Linked DNA regions of Homo sapiens: region 1 is linked to region 2. The links are contacts of gene promoters, found by promoter capture Hi-C in blood cells and fetal thymus (Javierre and others, 2016). All regions are on one chromosome and are shown on one strand. The core of a region is centred on a gene start or on the middle of the fragment in contact, and the rest is flanking DNA. Distances in the headings are between cores, read along the strand shown.

Region 1 (6,708 bases), core at 67-2,566, 540 kb after region 2:
GGTCTTGATTAGAAAGGAATCCATTACAGTTTGGTTGAATTATATAGTAGGGACTCTACTAAAGACAAGAAAATAAGGGGTGTTCCATGGGACACCCACAGAGGGTGAACTTTGAATGTGTGTGGGTGGGGGCTGGTCGGGAAATGGGAAAATCTGCCTATAAAATTAATGTTTCAGTTTATTTTTCAGATTACATGCCTTTCTTTATAAGGGATGCTGGCACAGACCCCCTAAAATAAGCTTTTGGTAGTACTGTACCTTTGAAGAGTGGTGAAGGATGCTAATGGATAATCTCCTGAAAGTTGTGGCTTTTGATACCCTTACTGTGGACTGTAGAGTTGCTAAACGTTGTTTAGCAAATAATGTTGCTTAGTTTCAAATGACATTTGACTTTCATCACTAAAACAGCAATGTACTCAGGGTTGTAAGCTTACTCAAATAGACTTTCAATAAGTCTTCAATGTATATATGATAGTTTTTAGCCTAATGTGAATTTAAATAATCTTAATAGTTTCCTAAAAGTCGATCTGAAACTTGGGGTGGGAAAGGGGAGGTAGCAATTTTTGAAGTATTTTAGCCATTTTTTTCATTTAAAGAAACCACTTGTCCCCATTTCCTCTTCTCCACTTTCTCATAATTTTGTTTTAAGAGGAACACTGGTTGTTTTTTATACTTCTCCTAATCTTTAAAAACTGCATATTGTTAAGACCCCAGTGTATTTAATAGGTATTTTATAAGCATAGCCCATTGGCTCATGTTAGTGAAACCATAATCCTCTTTGCTTAGAACATTAAACTCATAAGAAGTACTACAAACCCCACCACTCTTTATAGATGTATTGTACCACTAATATAAACAGCTAAAAAATGGGGAAATTGTAATGTTACGCCTGTGCAATTTTTAAGTGGCATATTATGGCAGATTAAAATTTAGATACTTGGCTTTTCTTGGGCAAGCCACTAAGTTGTGGCGGAATGTTTTCTGGTGTTCTTGGACTGCAATTATGCACTATTAAAGTAGTGGCCTGCTACATAACTGCATTTAGCCAGCATTTCTGCAGTGCGTAACTGTGAGGAACGTAGTACCGCAAATGGCAATGGACATTAGGACCCGGATGTAGTATTCCTGCTTGCTCCAAGATTCTCATTGCCGACTGCATACAGGTAGGTAACAAGCAATATAATCTAACTTGGTGACTTGTATGTACTTTTATTCCGTGGGCATTCTGGCATCACATTTCTGACAATGAAATTACAGTGCAGCACCTAACACTTGTATGGTAAAGCTAGCTTACATCAAAACTGTGTGGGTGTGGGGTTAGAGCTGTAATTTGTCAGGCAGAATTCAGTGCTGTTGCAGTTCTCAGATAAAAAGTGCAAACTTGATTCTTTGGTATATCTGACTCAGTTGTGTGGTTTCCTTTAGTTGCATTGTAACTGAAGATAACATGGAACACATCAGTGGTGTGGGGGAGAGGGAACTAAACTATACTTGGGAACTAGGGTGCTTTTAGCACCTTGACATGGACCGTATAGCATGTGATAATTAGTCTCTATTGTAGCAAACTGACCTGCCCATAGATCGGCAATATCAGTAATTTCATTATGCAATCTTGGTAATTCTACAAGTTGAGTTGAACTAAAAGTACAGGTTTTTTTGTAATGCGATTTAAAATTTTTAAAAACATGGGCTTCATGAAAACACCATTGTTACTAACTTGGGCTTAGATGGGAATCTAATGTGAATAGTTCAAGTTATGGGACTTGTCTAAATGTGTCTATACTCTAAACCTGGGGGAAGGTGGTGTGGAACATTGACTTGACTACAGTCGAATACATGTTGGGAATCATTCCCAATCATAAGACATCGTCGTTTCTGTAGGATGACTGCATATGTTCAGAGTAGCTTTTTGAATTTGGTTCCCTTAGCTTTAGGGATGTGATGTTATAGTCCAAAATGTTTACAAGAAAACCTAAGTCTTCAAAAGCACAACTTTTGTTGCTTAGGACTTTGCATCAACTGTTGTTCCAGACCTCACTTCAACTTCTTGGTCTCTGAACTGGTTTTAGCTAGCATGCATGAGAGACAGTTTTCATGTATAATGTTTCTGCTCTGTAACTGGAAAGTGGTTTACTTTGCATAAATGCTGATGAAAACTTCATGACTATGAGACTTTTCTTCTGTGTATCAAGAAAAAGCTTGCTCGTTGGCAAGCAATTCACAAGGTGGGGACAGACTTGTACTTTAACATGTAGTCCATTCAAGCAAACAACTTTGGACTCTACTGATAGATGAAAGAGCAAATGATGACTAGTTTAGCCTCTGCATATCAACAATATAATGCAGATCAAGTATAATGCTCAATATTAGTGACATGAGTATCACTAAATTACATAGAACCCTGATGGGGTTTCCTGTGTCGTAATCCATTAAATCGGTGGCCAGTGCTTGCTGCCGTGGTTTAGTGATTGGGTGTTAGAAATAAAAACTCAGGTCTATTTCTTACCAGTCAGTAACAATTTTTAGAGAATGTACTTGGTATATAATATATGGACTTCAGGAACTTTATTGGGGTGGGGGGTTAATTTTGCCTTACCCTGTTCACTTTCAGATGATTAGGCTTTTGCACTTTAGAATGAGAAACTTGTGACGTTAGTGTGTTCTTACTAGCTTTAATTTGTATGTAGCAATGAATTGTGAATCTTAGTGCAGTGGGTTTTTTTAAAAAACTCAAAAAGCTGGGAATTAAGTGGTTTCAGTAATAATGCTATACCGAGGTGCTTGCATTGTATTTCATAATTTTGTTACAAACCAAAATTATTTTTAATGAGAACAGTCTTGGGTTCAGAGGTGTGATGCCAGAATGTATTTTCGTACTGTTAGGCCCTTGGAACAGATACCGGTGCTTTCTGAAAGATGAAAGAAATGCAATGGGTGCTCTTCATGCAAGGTTGCAAACCTACCAAGAATGCATAATAGTCTCACTTTTCCCCAATAAAGAGATGCGTGTGACTAGTTTTGGACTTTTAACCTTAATGGGGGTTGCATGTCTCCTATTGTTAATCATTGTCAGCTGCAGTGACATGATCCACAGTCCTGCATTTACTGCCTTTCACTTAATGATTTTGGACAGGTTTTAGAGAGCCAGGATGTTGGTCTGGGCCTTTATTTGGTTTTGGCTTTAGCTGATAATGTTTTAGTGATGTCAGCTAGTGCAGTTCTCAAATGGCTGCCTATTAGGGAAAGAATTCAGAGGATTTGACTGCTCCTAATCATCTGTCATTGCTGCTAGATAATGATTGGCAATTTTTAAGACTCAACTGGAAATCTCAACAGTTGCTGGTAAACCATTAACCATAAAAACGTTGCTTTTGAACACCAGTGCTGAAAAAAATATTTTTTTTTTTTTTTTTGAGAGTGAAAAGGGCTTGGACTTAAGATAGGACAATGTGGAGAATGGGGGGAAGAATGCAAAACGATATAGTATCCCTTATGGATGGTACATGTGCAACAGGGAACTCTTACTTCATATACCCTTTGCAGTAATCATTCAGGGAGGAAGAAAAACCTGGAACTTGAATGAAGGCTGATCTTTGTTTTGTGCACTGTGGCCCTGCCAGGCATATAGTGAAGGTGAATGTCTTCTCCCTCAGAAAAAAATTGGTTCCTTGCTGTCCCAGTAAGGCATAGCTTTTCCAGCCCTAACTTTAAAACTCAGTGAGGACTTAGATGGGAAAGAATGAGGTAAATACAAAGGATTGCAGGACAACAACTACAGCGTTGTGTACTGTGGGAAGGGGAGTTGGGCACTCTTGGAGGACTCCTGCTGAAGGTGGTCAGCCTGCCTGACAATGGAAGACATACTTGAATGGGGAGCAGGGTATGTGCTTTCATATGAAAAAAGAGCTGATGTTAAAACTCATTTGGTGAGGTCAACGTTGTCACATACCTTCACATAAGGGATAGTATATTTTGGGTTGCAGTCAAACTTGTGCTCAGACTGGTGAAACTGAGAGTCAGGCTTTTACATTTTAAAGAAAATACAGTTTTCATTCTAATTCAGGTGTCTACTTATTTTATGTAAGAATAATTTTAGATTTCCCCCCCACCATGAAGTTTCTTCCTATTTTTTTATGCTGTAACTTACCCCCAATCTTTATCTCTGGATTTTTACTCTTTAAATTTTGAAGTTGACTAGCATTTTCAAACCTTTATTTTATACCCTTGTCTTTTATATTAACTTTTTCTTATTATTCTTTAGGTAAGAATGATTGATGTTGGCTGATATTGGAGTGCTCATTCACATGAAGTAAGTTTCCTTTAGAAATCTTAACCCCTACAGGCTTTTGAGTTTGATTTAAATAATTTCATTTAGATATGTGGAGTGAAACTTCGATATTTGAGATGTTTACCGTTTCTAAGATAATATCCCTTTATTTTTGTTTGGAAATTAGGGATGTATGTGAGAAAGCAAGTGAGAGGCATTATAAAAATGTCAAACAATAGAATTTTTAAAAAGTGGATGGTTATATAACGGTCATAGAAGAACAGAAAAGAAAACTTGACTTAAGGGGAATAGGCCATATTGTCAATATTCAATTCAATTTTAGACTCCATCTAAAACTCCATGATTCTTTTTTTACTTAAGAAAATGTAGGAGAAGGTCAGGCATGGTGGCTTTACACCTATATTCCTAGCACTTTGGGAGGCAGAAGTGGGAGGATTGCTTGAGCCCAGCCTGGGCAAAATAGTGAGACCATGTCTCTACAGAAAAAAATATAGCCAGGTGTGGTGGTGTGTGCCTGTGGTCCCAGCTCCCTTGGAGGCTGAGGTGGGAGGGATCGCTTGATCCTGGGAGGTTGAGGCTGCAGTGAGCAAGTTAACATTTTTTGTTACAGGTGGATAGATACTTCTCAAGACATCACACAGCGTGAGTCAATCAAGGAGGGAAGCCACAAGCAGACTGACAACGTTTCTAGGTAAGTTAAATGATTCTTAGTCTGTTAAACTGTCTTCAGAAAGGCCCTTGGGTGGTACAAAAATAACAATACTAATGTGGGAACCATTAATTTTTTATTTTTTGAGATGGAGTTTCGCTCCTTTTGCCCAGGCTGTAGTGCACTGGCATGATTTTGACTCACTGCAACCTCCACCTCCTGGGTTCAAGCGATTCTCCTGCCTCAGCCTTCCAAGTAGCTGGGATTACAGGCATGTTCTGCCACGCCCGGCTCATTTTGTATTTTTAGTAGAGACAGGGTTTGACCATGTTGGTCAGGCTGGTCTCAAACTCCTGACCTCAGGTGATCTGTCCACCTTGGCCTCCCAAAGTGCTGGGATTACAGGCTTGAGCCACTCCGCCCTGCCTGTTAATTACAATTAATGCCATGTTCTTTCATTCATTAAAAGATTTTTTTTTTTTTTTTTGAGACGGAGTCTTGCTCTGTCGCCCAGGCTGGAGCAGTGGTGCACAGTCTTGGCTCACCGCAAGCTCCGCCTCCTGGGTTCACGCCATTCTCCTGCCTCAGCCTCCCGAGTAGCTGGGACTGCAGGCGCCCGCCACACACGCCTGGCTAATTTTTTTTTGTATTTTTTAGTAGAGACAGAGTTTCACCATGTTAGCCAGGGTGGTCTTGATCTCCTGACCCTGTGATCCGCCCTCCTTGGCCTCCCAAAGTGCTGGGATTGCAGGCGTGAGCCACTGCGCCAGGCCGATTAATAAGATTTCTTTGGTATTAGTTCACTTGACAGTTATATAATGTTATGTTTGAGAATTTGGTAACTCTGATTCTTGTATCCTTTGGAGTAATCATACCCTTTAATTAGCAGGATCAGGTGAGCTGTGTCCAGAAAACCAACGAGAAGGAGTGGAAGGAGGAATGAACGTTTCATTCTCGTTAATAAAGGCATTATCCTAATTATCCTTTGGTTTTGTTTTTGTTTTTTTAGTACTCGTTTATTTTCTAGAATTTACCTGACTTCAACGTATTCAAAGTGACATTAAAAAAAAAAAAAGATGGTCTGTATTACAGACACAGAACCAGATTAAGTATAATTCAGGATCCTATTGTGACTTGGCAGTGCTGCTTTCAGTCTCAGTTACTGATCAATTTTTATGGTCCATTTTAGATATTTGCCTTCACTGTAATTTTTATTTCTAAAATTAGCATGTTATTTAGCAATTACTACCTACATCTTGATTGGATTTCAGACATAGCATTTTGTATTTCCAACTTCTGTATGTACGAATTATAAGATGATGTTTATGAGATAGTCACACATCGCTTCACAAGTAAGTATAGTCAAATAACAATATAGTAATATCCCCTTATCTGCAACCATGGTTAACCACAATCTCAGAGTTATTAATTTTTAAATTGTGTGCTTTTCTGAGAGGCATCCTGTCCTTCCCACCTTGGGCAGAATACTGATGGGAATGTTGGATACAGCATATACATGCTGTATATGCTATTTGCCATCCAAAAAGGCCATGTAGGCTAGGCTAGGCTTTGGTACCATTTGTGATTTTGGGCATCCACTGTGGGGGGGTCTTGGAATGTTATCTCCTCACAGACAAGGGAGGACTCTACTGTGTTTTTGATTGGTCTGAGTAATAACGAAGGGCTGTCAATTTCTCAAAGTCAAATAAAATTTGATAATGGAGTGTGAAATGGGTAATTTTTGAGAATATCTAAATGTAAGGAAAAATCT
Region 2 (7,124 bases), core at 511-3,010:
AAACCCCATCTCTACTAAAAATACAAAAATTAGCTGACGTGATGCATGCACCTGTAATCCCAGCTACTCAGGAGGCTGAGGCAGGAGAATCGCTTGAACCCGGGAGGTGGAGGTTGCGGTGAGCCGAGATTGCGCCACTGCACTCCAGCCTAGGCGACAGAGCGAGACTCCATCTCAAAAAAAAAAAAAAAAAAAAAAAAAGTGAGGATTTGGGTCACCCCAGGCTGAAGGCCAGGGGAACCTGAAGTGGATAAGGGAAGGGAGAAGACTTAGGCCACAGGATCTGATGTAGAAATGGGGCTGACGTCTCCACCTGTATTTTCTTAGCTGGAGGAGTGTGCAAAGTTTGAATTACTTCTGCCTTCTCCTTCTTATTTCCTTTTCCCTTTTAAAATAGTCATCATAATCATAAAAATTTCTTTTCCATTTTCCCTGTTTTTGCATATAGGATTTCTTGGTGTGATTTAATTTGCCAATTAGTCTCTAGGTTGCAGAATGGTGACTTGGAATCAAATTGAAACTGGAAGAGGGCACCTCATATATTAGGGTCAGCAATTACTGAACTCTGTTCTCTTTTATTCCAAACAGGGCCCCCAACTTCACATTTCCCCAGGGTGCAAAAGAGTGAGGGGGGTCAAGCTTCAGTAGAGTGGAGCTCTGAGAAGAATCCACTGGAGTTTGGAACCCAAGACCCTTTTTTATCACGCTGTTCCTCCTCACCTGGGCAAAAGCACTGGTACCCACTTCACAGGCATCATGGGTGGGCTCTGTGTCCTGCGGAGAGCCCCCGTCCCGGGTACAGGACATCAGCCCTGAGCCCTGTCCCAGGCTTGGATCTTCTTTCTCTCTCTCTCTTTTTTTTTTTTTTTTTTTTTTTTTTTTTGAGACGGAGTCCCACTCTGTTGCCCAGACTGGAGTGCAGTGGTGCAGTCTTGGCTCACTGCAACCTCCACCTCCCAGGTTCAAGCGATTCTCCTGCCTCAGCCTCCCAAGTAGCTGGGATTACAGGCGCCCGCCACCAAGCCCGGCTAATTTTTGTATTTTTAGTAGAGATGGGGTTTCACCATGTTGGCCAGGCTGGTCTCAAACTCCTGACCTCAGGTTATCTGCCCGCCTCGGCCTCCCAAAGTGCTGGGGTTACAGGCGTGAGCCACCGCACCCGGCCTCAGTGACTTTAGTCAAGTAAGCACAAAAAGGAATATATAATTCCAAATTGTGATAAATGCTATGAAGAAAAGGAATGTGCTCTGACATAAAGGGGGGAACGAACGTGATCTAGGGAGTCAGAGATCTCTCCGAGAAGAGATCTGAAATAGGAGTAAGTCGAGAGGGGGAAGAGAATGCTAGACCGAGGGAACAGTGCGTGCCAAAGCCGCGTGGCGGAAAGGGGCGTGTGGGAGGGTAACTGCGGAGAGGGAGGGTAGAGGACGAAGCCGGAGAGGCAGACGAAGGGCAGGACGCACAGAGCCCCGCGGCTACCGCCTTAGGGGTTGTCCCGGCGGTGGGGAAGCCATTGAGGAGTTTAACGCCGGAAGGTGGTGACTAATCAGATTTCACTTGAAAATGGCACGGTGTCTGCAGCGAGGCTAACTGATGGGAAGGGCCCAGCGAATGCCAATAGGAGAGAGCACCGGACCTGGAAGGCCTGGGTCAACGCGGCCCCGCGCGGGGGCGAAGCGGTTCCGGCGCAGGGGCCTGGCGCGGGGCTCCGCGGAAAACCGAACCGGCCCACGTGGGACCGGTCGCTCCGCCCTGCTGCGCAGACGCCGCCTGACTCCGCAGTCCGGGACTGGGGCTGGGCGCGCTGCCCGGGAGCCCCGCACCCACGCCTGGACCGCGGAGACGCCCAGGCCGAGGAACCCCCAGCCCAGGGACTAGACACCACCAGGGCCGGGCGGAGCCAGAGCCAGACGCGCCGGAGCGGGCGCCTCTACGCCGTGAGTCCGAGTCTGGGGCCCGAGGCGGGGTGGGGCTTGGGGCTCAGCCGCGGGAAGCGGGGAGTCACAGTGGCCTCCTTCGAGGAGACTAGGGAAGGATGGTCTCTGTCTCCTGGGGTGGTCTCCCACTCCCGCAAGGCCAGAAAAGGAGGCTGCCTCCTGTTTGGGCGGAGACCTAGTCCTGGCGTGTCGGGGTTCTCATTTTACTATCTCTGAGAACCCTGTGATCCCTAGCGCCACCCCCACCCCATCCCAGCTTCCTTCACGGCCCCATCCAAGTATAGGAAAAATAAAAAATTGGGGCGAGGGGAGATCTCTAGGCACCTTCCCACAAGCCTTGCTTAGAGGGCGATTAGAAACGAACTGTTCCTACACCCTTCTCCCCAGGACTTCTCTGCCCATTGCTGGGGGTGGGGAGGGTCCATGCCACCTATGGAGCGCCTTCCAGTGCCGGCTCCACTTACAATACCCTTCCTCTTCATGCTCTTCAATTGTTCTAATCCCAGTGCTGTTTGGTCAGTAGAATCCCTTTGTCAGTTCAAATCCTAATTTTGGTTAGAAGCAGGTTATGGAGGAGAGAAGAGTGGTGTGGTATGCCCTCCCTCCAGGGCCTCAGAATGGAGCAAGCTAGGGACGGGGACCGCAAGATAGTGGCTGTGTTCCAGAGGCATTGGGAGGGAAGGGGGCAGGCTCAGAAGAAAAGCTTGTCACTGGGGAAGGCGGGGCTCCCTGGCTGGGGTAGGAAAGGGAACCAAACCCAGCTCTTCCAGAACCCAGCTCTTCCAGCCCTGGGGAGTCAAGAGTGGATTCCTGAGCATGGAAATTCACTGCAGTCTCTTCTCCCATTCACTCACTTAGCAAGTACCTGTATGCACAGACAGCCTGGTTCAGGGCTCTATGCTGGCTGACTCTGGGGAATATGATGGAGGATATATACAGGAGGTCCAAGCCAGATTACAAACTGCTATTACAAGATCATTACCACAAACCAAAAATGCCAGTTGAATAGACATTCACTGATCGTCGACCATGTATGCCAGGGACGGATGCAAAGTTGGATAAGACAGTGTATACCCAGCGCAGTGGGGACCCAGAGGAAGGCATAACTAACCGTGCTTGTTTATGTAATATTGATTGGGGCAGTATCAAGACGGCTTCAGAGACATGGGGACATGGAAACATGGGGATATTACAGCTAATTTTGAAGTACAAAAAGGAATTTGCTGGGTGGAGAAGGGAGGAGCTTTGAGGGGAGGGGAGAGGAAGGATATTGTAGGCCAAAGGAATACTGTAAGAAAAACAATGGTGTGTTTTGAGATCTCTGGGCAGTTTGCTATGATGGGAGGGGCAGAGTGGCAAGAGGCAGGTATGGAGGGGTGAGCAGGGGCCAGATCAAACAGGGTGTTGTAGGCCAGGTAGAGGTTTAGCAGGAATTCAGGGAGGGCATTAGGAGTGGTGACAAGTGAAATTTACATTTTTAACTGGAGGCAGAGAGATCAGTGAAAAGGCCGAGGCAATAATCCAGGTCAGAAATGGCCTGGAAGAGGAAGAATGGTCAGAATGTGGTTATTAATGAGATGGGAGAAGGAAGGATAGTGAGGACCCCAGGATGCTCTCAGCTTTCTGGATGGAGTACAGAGCCATCTTGCTGAGGATACTGAAGGAGAGCTTGTTTGGTTATGTAGAATTTTGGCGGGGGGCGGTGGTGGAGGGGGATGATGTCACTCTGTCACCCAGGCTGGAGTGCAGTGGCGCAATCTCGGCTCACTGAAACCTCTGCCTCCTGGGTTCAAGTGATTCCCCTGCCTCAGCCTCCCAAATAGCTGGGATTACAGGTGCCTGTCACCATGCCTGGCTAATTTTTGTATTTTTAGTAGAGATGGGGTTTCACCATGTTGGCCAGTCTAGTCTCGAACTCCTGACCTCAGGTGATCTGCCTGCCTCGGCCTCCCAAAGTGCTGGGATTACAGGTATGAGCCACCATGCCTGGACTGGTTATGTAGAATTTGAGGAGACTATGGTTGGTTGCAGGGTTGGATAGCAGTTGGATCTGGGCTGAAGACAGATCTGAGAGTCACCAGCATATGATGGTCTTTGAAGCTACAGCAGAGAATGAGGTCCTCTGGAGAGAAATGCACAAAATCAGAAGACAGCCTGGCTCTGAGGACGGAGGAAAAACCCTTTGCAGGAGACTGAGAATGAACAGGTAGACAGGGAGGACGAAAACCACGAAGGGAAGTGTTACCAGAGTCAAGAGAAAGGGCTTGACAGGGAGTGGCCAGGCTCTTGCTTGCAGCCTTGTCCCTGCAGCTAAGTTGCCCTGACTTCAGGCACCCCACCCTGTCCTACTGTGACTCGGTCTCCTGCTTTCCCTTTACAGGCTAGATGTTCGCCATCCAGCCAGGGCTAGCTGAGGGGGGCCAATTCCTGGGGGACCCACCTCCTGGATTATGTCAGCCCGAGCTCCAACCAGACAGCAACTCCAACTTCATGGCAAGTGCCAAGGATGCTAACGAGAATTGGCATGGGATGCCAGGCAGAGTGGAACCTATCCTGAGGAGGAGCTCCTCTGAGTCACCCTCTGACAACCAAGCCTTCCAGGCCCCTGGATCCCCTGAGGAAGGGGTGCGCAGCCCCCCAGAGGGGGCAGAGATTCCCGGGGCTGAGCCTGAGAAGATGGGTGGTGCTGGCACAGTCTGCTCCCCTCTGGAGGACAACGGCTATGCCAGCAGTTCCCTGAGCATTGACAGCCGTAGCAGCAGTCCTGAGCCTGCCTGTGGGACCCCGCGAGGCCCTGGCCCTCCCGATCCCCTTCTGCCCTCAGTGGCCCAGGCTGTGCAGCACTTACAAGTCCAGGAGCGCTACAAAGAGCAGGAGAAGGAAAAGCACCACGTGCACTTGGTGATGTACCGTCGCCTGGCACTGCTCCAGTGGATCCGGGGCCTGCAGCATCAGTTGATTGACCAGCAGGCCCGACTGCAGGAGAGCTTCGACACCATCCTAGACAACCGGAAGGAGCTTATTCGCTGTCTCCAGCAGAGGGCAGCACCATCCAGGCCCCAGGACCAGGCCTAAGGGTGTGCCTCCACAAGTGTGCAAGGGTATATGTATATATTTGCAGGCATGTGTGAGGCGCACTAGTAAGTACATAATTTGCTGGCATGATTGCAGGTAGGCATGAGTGTGTATGTGCTAACATGTAGGCTGGTGTGTGTAGGCATGTGTGAATAAGCATGTATAAATGAGCTTAAGTGTGCTGTGTGCACATGTGTACACACAGCTAATTTATCTGCAGACCTATATGTGAGCATGTAAGAGTGAACATATGTGTGTGTGTGTAGTATGTAAGAATGAGGAACTCGGTATGTGCATGTGTAGACAGGTACCCAGCAGTGTGTGTATATGCGCATGAGTGAGGATGTATAGGCAGAAGATGTGTGTGTCTATGAGTGAGTTTGAGTGTGCAGGCTTGTATTAGGTGTATGTGAGGAAGCCCTTGTGTGTGCAGGGGTGCACATGTTTGGCCACAGGCATGGGAGGTGTATGTTAGGAGCATGTGTGTTTGTAGGCAGACTCATGAGCAGGTGTGTGCAAATACATATCCAGCTGCACTGTGGGTGTCCACCCACACCTTGTGTTCCTCATGGCCTACCCCAGCCTTTCTTCTCCACTGGGTCCCACTGTTCCCTGGAGACAGAGGGCTAGCATGCTGTCATTTATCTGAAGGTTGTGGCTGACCCATTCTCCTGGGATTTCCCAGGCCACCTCTCCTTTCCCTTTCCCTCACTTAACCCAGACTTGCTCAGCTGAGGCTATTGTCCCTGATGTTGGCTTTACTTGTAGGAGGTTTAGTGGCTGCTCTGGCCTGCCATGGAATTTTGGCTGCAATTTTGGCAGTGTGTGGAGAACTGGTATCAGGAAAGGGAACCAGGAGTAGTGATGAAGATGATGGTGGGGATGGGGACAGAGGACATAGGGGACTGTCCCTCTTGAACTCTGCCTTTGGGCACATGGGAGATGGGGACAGGAAAGATGATAACAGTGGAACCCTGTGAAGAATAGGAGAATGGGAATTCTAAAATACCAGTTCCCAAACAAACCATCTCTCCATTGGAAAAGGAGCTGTTGCAAACCGTGTTCATTTAAGCTTCTGATGAAAAGCAATGTATGTTTATAAGCTTGCAAGTAACAGACAAGATGTTCCAAGGCCGATGAGGAAAATATCGCTTCCCTGTCTCTGCCTCTACCTTGCTGTGCCTCTCTGGCTTTAGCAGCATTGGATGTTGAATTGGTTTGGTTCATTTCTCTGAAGTCGGACTGTCAGGAGGAGCCAGAGGTTGGCTTTCTGGGATGTGAAGGGGACAGTGTCAGCCTAAGCCTCTGGAGATGCTTAGGATGCTGAATTTTAACCCCTTCTTTCACTGCATGGCCCTTCAAACAGGGATTGGCAGGCTCCGCGAGTTACAGAGTGGGTGAGTCTTGGAGAGAACCAACGACTAAGGTAGCTTAGCTCTCTGCTTTGTTCTTGGGAGCCAAGAGAATGCAAGATCCTGGTGGGTGAGCAGTGGTATGAAGAGGGGACACTGGTGGGTGAACAGTGGCATGGAAGTCACTGATGCAGCCTCTGGCCCTCAGTCTCCCTATCGGCAAAGTGGGGGGCTCTTCCTATCTCTAAAGAGTTTCATCCCTGACAGGTGGATGGGTGAAAGATCCAGAGAGTGGGGGTGAGGGGTGGGCCCTGAAGACTTTTTGTCTGTAGCTCTTGCATATTGAGTGTATAAACCCGGCTTCTGGACCAACCCAAGATGAATAAACTGGGGCAGAAAATTACATTTCTTGAGTATGTGTTTTTCTTCTACCTGTTGTCTGATGGCCTCTTTTTCATACCATCTGAGCTCCCCTTTTGAGTAGGGTCCTGGACTAGGAGCTAGGGAGGTGGTTTTGGGGAAAGACACTGAAGAATTTAGACTGCTGTGCCTGGCGATCCAATGGGGTGGAGAAGTCTCTCAGGGGCCATCCAGTGTGACAGGGGAGACTTGACTTCTACCCTGAGAGCCCCATATGGGATTGTCCTTGTCCTGTGTCACCTTTGGGCCTAAATGAATTGCGAGGGACACATACCATACACACTCGTACATACTCAACTGTACCCTGGGCAGGGCACGGTGGCTCACACCTGTAATCCTA

What was found. Contacts are between HindIII fragments. The CHiCAGO score rates a contact against its expected background, and 5 or more counts as called.
Region 1: a fragment that was not itself captured here is called in contact with the fragment with the promoter of C1orf216 in region 2 in 1 of 17 cell types (monocytes); the score reaches 5.6 in monocytes.

What each region holds. Positions count from the first base shown.
Region 1 is chr1:35,175,590-35,182,297 of GRCh38, reverse strand. It overlaps a transcript of SFPQ not described here. Among named protein-coding and RNA genes, the nearest start is that of SFPQ, 14 kb to the left of the region's middle. The HindIII fragment of the contact is 1,769 bases long and covers 432-2,200 here.
Region 2 is chr1:35,713,520-35,720,643 of GRCh38, reverse strand. It overlaps C1orf216 (chromosome 1 open reading frame 216), which reads left to right and starts at 1,760. Exons shown (of 2, transcript NM_152374.2): 1 at 1,760-1,937; 2 at 4,318-6,767. The coding sequence starts at 4,323. The coding sequence ends at 5,012. It also overlaps a transcript of CLSPN not described here. RefSeq lists a silencer at 1,599-2,028 and an enhancer at 4,842-5,136. The HindIII fragment of the contact is 2,001 bases long and covers 642-2,642 here.